Regions from separate parts of the Homo sapiens genome. Here regions 1 and 3 are each linked to region 2. Evidence: promoter capture Hi-C in 16 types of primary human blood cells and fetal thymus (Javierre and others, 2016). All regions are on one chromosome and are shown on one strand. Each heading gives the region's core, a stretch centred on a gene start or on the middle of the fragment in contact. The rest is flanking DNA. Distances are from core to core; before and after follow the strand shown. Region 1 holds the start of EFHC2 (EF-hand domain containing 2). Region 2 holds the start of NDP (norrin cystine knot growth factor NDP). Region 3 has its middle 35 kb from the start of EFHC2.

What was found. Contacts are between HindIII fragments. The CHiCAGO score rates a contact against its expected background, and 5 or more counts as called.
Region 1: a contact is called between the fragment with the promoter of EFHC2 here and the fragment with the promoter of NDP in region 2, in 12 of 17 cell types (non-activated CD4 T cells, total CD4 T cells, total CD8 T cells and 9 more). The highest score is 13.7, in non-activated CD4 T cells.
Region 3: a fragment that was not itself captured here is called in contact with the fragment with the promoter of NDP in region 2 in 1 of 17 cell types (non-activated CD4 T cells); the score reaches 5.0 in non-activated CD4 T cells.

What each region holds. Positions count from the first base shown.
Region 1 is chrX:44,342,403-44,345,102 of GRCh38, forward strand. EFHC2 (EF-hand domain containing 2) reads right to left here and starts at 1,270. Exons shown (of 15, transcript NM_025184.4): 1 at 1,145-1,270. The coding sequence starts at 1,186. The HindIII fragment of the contact is 28,191 bases long and covers 1-2,700 here.
Region 2 is chrX:43,971,897-43,974,645 of GRCh38, forward strand. NDP (norrin cystine knot growth factor NDP) reads right to left here and starts at 1,494. Exons shown (of 3, transcript NM_000266.4): 1 at 1,408-1,494. The HindIII fragment of the contact is 1,267 bases long and covers 1,192-2,458 here.
Region 3 is chrX:44,377,679-44,380,378 of GRCh38, forward strand. No RefSeq gene overlaps it. Among named protein-coding and RNA genes, the nearest start is that of EFHC2, 35 kb to the left of the region's middle. The HindIII fragment of the contact is 1,237 bases long and covers 791-2,027 here.

The DNA of each region.
Region 1 (2,700 bases), core at 20-2,519, 370 kb after region 2:
AGCTTCTCCTGCAGACACAGATGGCTGACCCAAGTGAAGGGTAGTAACCAGTATAAACAAAAGCCTGAATCATTTTCCTGCTGTCGTTTAAATGAGGTGCTATTTATTGGCAAAAGTTCTTTCATGCTCAGGGTTTTTTGTGTTGTGTTGCTTTGTTCTGTACGTTCATCTTCTTTTGAAATGAACCCCTCCAGGACAGGCGCAGTGGCTCAGCCTGTAATCCCAGCACTTTGGGAGACCGAGGCGGGCAGATCACTTGAGGTCAGGAGTCCGAGGCCAGCCTGGCCAACATGGTGAAACCCCATCTTTACTAAAAATACAAAAATTAGCCGGTGTGGTGGCGGGCGCCTGTAATCCCAGCTACTCGGGAGGCTGAGGCAGGAGAATCGCTTGAACCTGGGAGGTGGAGGTTGCAGTGAGCCGAGATCGGGTCACTGCACTCCAGCCTGGGCGACAGAGCGAGACTCCGTCTCAAAAAAAAAAAAAGAAATGAACCCCTCCCAATTATAAATAGAGAAAAAAAAAATCCCTCCAAGTTTGGGTGCCTGTCTCTATAAAGTTTGGGAGTAAACTTTACAGGCTGATAGAACTCTTATCTGCCACCTACCCCTCTTGATAAGTGCCAGATTTCTTCAATTTGATAATTGAAACGGTATCTTTTTTCACACAGGATACTGGGGATAATGATTAGGCTCCTGAGCTGTGGAGACAAGGTTGCTTGAAAGAAACCCAGCTTCACCACTGAGACTGTGTGGTTCTGTGCCTCAGTTTCCTCAATAGTAACTGGGAATAAAAACTACCTAATTCAAAGGGCTGTTGGGACACTGGATGCTGCATAAGGTGATTAAAGCACAGCGCCTGGCACACATTAAACCCCCAATGGTTATCGTCACTATTATTTGTTACCTTTGAGGGTCCTGCCACCTATAAGGACTCTCTCTATATATTTCTAAATTAGGAAAAACATTCAGATGCAGCTGGAGAGATGGGAGAAGCAGCCTATAAAGTTTGGTCCAAGTTGCCACCAACCCAGGGCAGCAGCATGGGGCCTCCAGGAGAGTCTGCGGAGGTGGCCACGCCACGACCCTGCCTGGACCCCAGACTCCAGCCGGGAGCTGTGACCTCGGACGCCCTTCCTACTCACGTTGCGGTTGAAGCTGTTGCCCGGCAGCAGAGGCAGGGCCATGGCGCTCAGTGTCCGAAAATCCAGGGTCCCAGAAGAGAGGGCCCGGCAGGCAGCGGCGCCTCCCGGCCGTGTTGTTTGGCCCCCACGTTGCCTGGAGACGGGAAGCGGCGTCACGGAGGGAGGAGGGGCGGGGGGTTGGCGAGAAGGATCGTGGGGGGCGGGGGACACCTCCGCGGCGCGTACCTCCTCCCCAGCCCCAGTTCCCCTCCACCCGCTTCATCCCCGCACACACTCAGCCAGGTCCTGGTCTCCTGAGGAGTCTTCTCTCTGCACACGCAGTGTGCACACACAAAGATTGACTGTTCCCTGCCCCCGCCGCTTTCTGGTTTAACCCCCTTATAGAACTCAAAGCCTTTCTTGTACTTTCTTGCTTTTCCAATTCTTGTCGCCAACAGTTTTTTGCTATGTGGTTCAAACACACAGCAAAGTACAGAAAGTAATATGACGCCCGTGTGCTCACTGAGATGTTACACAAGTCGATATTTTCCTATGTTGCATAGACATCAGCTTTTATTTTGTAATTAAAACGTTCAAGATGAATCTAAAGCCACATATACCCTGACGAAAACGCGTTGTAATGGTAACCACCGCCTTCAGTTTTTCTTCTGGATATTTTTATATTTGTTGTTTGTTTGTTTGTTTGTTGTTTTAAGACAAGGTCTCACTATGTTGCCCAGGCCGATCTCGAACTCCTGGGCTCAAGCAGCCCTCCCGCCTCTGCCTCCCAAAGTGCTGGGATTACAGGTATGAGCCACCGTGTCCGGCCCATTTTTGTATTTGAACTAAACGTTTGTAAGGCCCAATCAGGGGTGGCCGGGGCGGAGTCAGGTGTCACAAATCGCAACCCCTGTCACTCCATCGTTCACCCCAAGATAGCCGGGCCAGGAACCTCCTCTCCCGACACCTACGTCTAATCCCTCCCTGAAGCCCTAAAGGTTGGACTCGATGCTCTCTCTCAGTCACCACCTCGTCTATTTCAGCTGCGATCCCATTGTTTCTTGCCTGGTTTTCTTCTTTAAAAAGAAAAACAAACACACACAAAAAACTAACTGATCTTGCCTCCAGAGCCGTCGTTTTTATAATTCATGGTGCAGCTGTTACTCTTCTGCTTCAATAATCTAGCCTTCCCGCCGCCTTCAGAAGGTGGTGAAACTCCTTATAGCCTGGTCTGAGGAGCTTTTGTCAGAGGGCACCTACCAATGCCCTCCATCCCTTTCTTTGCCCCCTCCTCCATCTACTCCAGCTCTGAGAAACCACTGGCAGTTTCTAAATCAGGCTCTGCGGTTTCTCCTCTTGGGGCTTTTGCAAATAACACTATCGTCTAGAAACACCCTTCCTTCCTATCTTTCACATAAGTAACCCCTTCTTGTCTTTCAGGACTTGAGGCCAGCGTGGGAGTGGGGCATAGAAGGTATTGCCATTTCTTCAATATATTCTTTCACCTTCTTCCTGCCGCCTCCATCTGTATTTGGTGTCTATTCTGATCGTGGCTTTCATCCTACTACATTGTAATT
Region 2 (2,749 bases), core at 244-2,743:
CAGGACCATAAAGTTTCCTTGAATTAGTAAGACTGATGAGAAGAAAATGAGCAGATATTTGCATCTGGTTTAAACGCTCAGTTGAGAAGCATTGTGCCGTCCCCGCTGTATTTGGTTGACACCCACAGCAACTCCCCATTTCAGTCATCTCTCTGTTTTCAAATGCACCTGGTATTTAATCTTATGTGTTGGGGTAATTTGCCAATGCCAGCTCCTTGTAATTAAAATACACTAATATTAGAAATGAAAAGAGACATGTTTCACAGCAGCCATATCTGTTATTAATGAGTTACAAAGAACTGTACAAGGGACTCCCATCTTGCCAAATAGCTTCCTTTCCCGCACCTGAATCTCAGTAAAGATGGGAGTCTGCCTCTCATGGAGGCTTATCTGGGTTTGTCTATTACAATGAGCCTCAGTTACTGGGCGTTCTGAGTCATTAACATTCTGTACACAATCAAACTTCCCGTCCCCCAAGAAAGAGTTATGCCCAGGCCTCCTACAGCTCAATTGTTCATTTAAAGAGAGAACTTGTATTCCAAAGTTTGAAAGAAACCTCGGAATATCCCGCAGGTAGGAGTCATTCCTACAGGTCCTGGTCTCTGTGCTGGTGGGAGCATCCTTTCCCGGTCACTCCTTGAACATCATGCTGCAGGGACGAGCTGATGACTAAAAATAACCCCCTGCAATAAGTCCAAGGCAAACAGCATGCATTTCCTCGGACTTTTTGCCCAATCAAAATCATACAGTAAATCCATCCTCATCTCCTCCCGGTGCTCCCCAATGCATCTATGGAAGCGAAGACCTGCACGCTGAAAGAAGAGTGCAAGGGAGCAGGATTCCTGCAAAGCGTGACACAGAAAGCTAGAAATAAATGTTGCCTATTGTTTGAAGTCATTCTGAGCACTCCGGCAGAGCCCTGGCAGGAGATCAGCAGCATACATAAGTAGTAATAAAAGTAAACAGTGCGCTTTTAAACTCGCAGTCTTGCCTGCGTTAATAGTGCCCCCATTGTAAGTGGGATGAGGGTGCTGGGGAAGATACTGGGCTCCATGAATCCATGTTGGCAAGTTGCTGCTTCGCAGCCCCCTTTCACGGGGTCAACTATAAGAACCATCACAAAGTTACATCTAACTACGCAGAGAGTTTGAAAAGAAAAATCTCTTTAAGTCAAACCAAAAGATATTTTCAAGCTTTTCTAGGAGGCTCCCTGCTCTGTCACAGACTTCAAAGACCCGTTCATTTAAGAAACACAATGCTAGCATGCTACAGATTAATGCAAATTAAAGTAATGCAAATTTAAGTGGTATTTAAAGGTTGTCTCTTTGTCTGAGAGGAGGATGAAATGCTCGGTTTGGAAAGAAGCGATTTCCTAGGCAAGCCGGCAGCGCTTGTTTTCCTGCTTACCTTAGGGGAACGCAGGGCTCCTTTCTTCTCAGACTTTTCTGAGAGCTAGAAAGAGGTCCTGTTACTTCCAAATGCTTTTGTTCTTCTGTCCCTCTGTCACATGGCTTGCCTTTTATATTTGCAACACACAAAAGTTAGGACTGTTGTTTAAGCGACACAGGGAGAGAGAGAGAGGGAGAGAGAGAGGGAGAGAGAGAGAGGGAGAGAGAGAGAGAGAATGTCAAATGGAAAAGTGCCATTGCAGTCATATATCAATCAGGCGTGCGGCCGCAGCAGCGCACTAGCAAATGGGAATGCCACGGAAATGTGAGGCGCTCGTTATCGGGGACTCAGCCTCTGCCCACCGCTCGGCTCCCTTCCACGGAGCATCTTACGATGGGAACAGCGTAGCAGAACAAGGGCGAGGAAGTTTCTTTCTTTCTTTCTTTTTTAATGGTATTATGGAACTAATAAGAGGCCAAATGAATATTCTGAATTTAATTCTTTTTCAAGCATGTGGCTGCCATAAAGATGTGCCGTCCGCAATAGAGACGTATAGTTTTGGAAATACAAAGGCAGTGTGGCATTCTGTTGAACGATTCGGCAGCTGACTGTGATGAAGTTGAAATTTTAAGTAAGAGAGGGGAAAGATGGGAACCAGAAATTTTTTTCTCAGGCGATGCTGTTAAAGCAAGTGCAAAACGCTGCCCTATTTTATCACGATGTGTGTGGGTGGTGAGAGTTCTTTTTTTCCGGGTTGTTCATCCATTAAATGATTTTTAGCAGCATATACATGATTAAATTCACAATGGCACTTTAATAAGCCCCTTCATCTGCATCATTTAGAATAAAACTTTAGGTCTGATTTAGAAACAATGAGAACGTGTATTCCTTGACTCCTTGAGCTATATGAAGGAGAAACTAATAGATAAAGCTAACCCATTACACAACAACTAGTAGAAAAGTGACAAAGGTAACTATGTGTGTGGGTTAAATACCTGCAGCTGAATCATGCTGTGTTATGAGCTGTGGGACTACAAAGGCAAATATTTCATAATTCTTGCCCTTTGAAAGCTTAAAATTAACACAGAAAACCGTCAGGGATTTTGGAGGAAAATACAAAGAACATTTAATAATTATTTTATGTCAGGTAAATCAGACCCAGAATAATTTGTTTTATTAATACTACTGATGAAGAATTAAACTGAGAATTTAAAATATATATATTTCGTGGAAAAAATAATACATTATAAAACTCAAAAAGAAATTTTTCTTGGGAGCTTCATGTAATTGTTGATGCTGAAACTGTCTTGTTCAACTCTGTATCAAACTATTTGTTATTCATTAATAAATTTACATTCAC
Region 3 (2,700 bases), core at 159-2,658, 410 kb after region 2:
TGCACCAGAAACAGATGCCAGCACCATGCTTCCTCTATAGCCTGCAGAACCGTGAGCCAAATAAATCTCTTTTCTTTATAAATTACCCAGGCTCAGGTATTCCTTTATACCTACGCAAGAACAGACTAACACAATGGCTGAGTAGAGATTTGCCAGGTGGGAAAGAGAAAAAAAGAAATCTCAGACATTCCTCTTTTTTAGAAAGTCTGGCAGGTGACTTGACAGGGAAACAGAATATTCCCAAAAGGTGGCAAGTGCCTATGGATTTTTTCATCAAGTCAGTTACAATATTCTAATACTTTAAGTTTAGACAGAAATGGCTGGCTTATTTGGGGGGAAATTTTAACTTCTAGCTATATTTTGTTTTGTAGGACTATGTATGTAACAATGAAATTTGTTTTTAAACGCCGGCTCTTCTGTGACTGGATATTTGCAGCACATCCAAGAGGAAAATATGCTAGGAGAGGGTATGAGAGTATTAAATAAGAATAATTTTCAAGTAAGGTTGTAAAAGCATCCAAACTGCTGTTGGAGGAGTGGGGGACCCCAAAGACTATCCTCAGTTTCCATAATTTGCTAGGAGGACTTACAGGACTCAGCATACCGTTATACTCATGGTGCGGATATATCACAGCCAAAAGACCCAAAGCAAAATCAGCAAAAGCAAAAGGCACATGGGGGTGAAGTCTGGAGGAAACCAGGAGCAAGCTTCCAAGAATCTTCACCCAGTGGAGTCACAAGGGATGTACTTGATTTCCCCAGCAATGAGTTCTGAAATGTCTACCAGGGAAGCTTATTAGAAATTCAGCACCCAGGGCTTTTCCTGGGGGGCTGGTCATGGAAGTACCCCTTGCCTGGCAGGTACCCAAATTCCAGACTCCCAGAAGGAAAGCAGATAGATGTTCAGCATAAACCGCATTGCTTGCATGAAGTTTAGGCACAGTGAGCCACTCTTACCAATTCTAGAAATGGTGGGAACCCTCCTGAAATTCAAGTTCTGGGATACCAGCTAAGAGCCAACCTTGTGAGCAAGCCTTTCTAAGGATAAGCAGTTAGGACTCTATGTTAACTCTTTACTGCACTGAGGTAACAGTTTATCTCATGGGTGCTTTTTTTTCTCTCCTCGTGGCTTGTGTCATTATTCCCATCTCTTAAGATCTAAAGCAAAGGCCTTTTAGTAAAATGAATCAACATATATTTGGGCCTTGAGGGTGTGTGTGTGTGTGTGTGTGTGTGAGAGAGAGAGAGAGAGAGAGAGAGAGAAAGAAGGATCGGAAACGGTGTAATCCCAGCACTTTGGGAGGCCAAGGTGGGTGGATCATTTGAGGTCAGGAGTTCGAGACCACCCTCGCCAACATGGTGAAACCCCATCTCTACTAAAAATATAAAGGAAAAAATTAGCCAGGTGTGATGGCGGGTGCCTGTAATCCCAGCTACTTGGGAGGCTGAGGCAGGAGAAGCGACTGATCCTGGGAGGTGAAGGTTGCAGTGAGGTGAGATCACGCCACCACACTCCAGCCTGGGTGACAGAGCAAGACTCCATCTCAAAAAAAAAAAAAAAAAAAAAGGGAGAGAGAGAGTGAGTGAGTGAATACTTAAAATAGTCATCATAATTGAAACAGCCTAAGCATTTTGGGTTGCAGATGTCTGTCTGAAGTCTTTCCTTTATGGCTAATACATTTTGAAGCCCTTACCCAGATGAGTAATTACAAGAAAGTGCAGTGGCCCACTGTTTCTGTTTTAAAATCATTCCCCACCCATTAGAATTTGCTTCAGCTGCTTTTAATATCAATTTTTATATGCAGGTACTTAGTAAAATAACAAAAATAAAAATACACCTCTGGGCAACATTTCTTCTTCACTTCAGTCACTTTTTTTTTTTAAGTCCACACCTCATCTGTTGTGTGTGGAATTGCAACTACATTTTTAGTACTGAGTTTGCGTATGGGTCTGATTTTTACCTCTTTTTTTCTTTGCTGTGTAGTTGATGTGTCTGTAACATACAATCCTATATAAAGCAAAGTCAAAGCTTCCAAGGCAAAGAAATATTTGAAATCAATCATAATCACATCTTATTCAAATAAGGCTCTTACTTCCTGAGAATTCTTCTATATCATCTGGTGCCCAAATCTTGCAGATCAATGGCCTTCAACTTTTACTCCTGGGAGATTATTTCAAATAATGACTCTCTTGCACATGCTCTTCTTCAAATCCTTATCTTCCCCAAATTTATTTAAATTGACTATGTATTCATTTTTTATTTATTCGTGGACTAAACATTTATTTAATGTCTATCATATGCCTTCTGGGTATTGGAGATACAAATATTAAAGAAAACAAAGTCACTGTGCTCAAGGAGTTAAAAGTCTAATAGGACAATTAAACAGGTTAAAAAGGCTGGGCACAGTGGCTCACACCTGTAATCCCAGCACTTTGGGAGGCCGAGGTGGGTGGATCACCTGAGGTCAGGAGTTCGAGACCAGCCTGGCCAACATGGTGAAACCCTGTCTCTACTAAAAATATAAAAAAATTAGCTGGGAGTGGCTGCGAGAGCCTGTAATCCCAGCTACTCAGGAGGCTGAAGCAGGAGTATGGCTTGAACCCAGGAGGCAGAGGTTGCAATGAGCCAAGATCGCACCATTAGACTCCAGCCTGGGCGACAGAGTGAGACTCCGTCTCAAAACAAAACAAAACAACAAC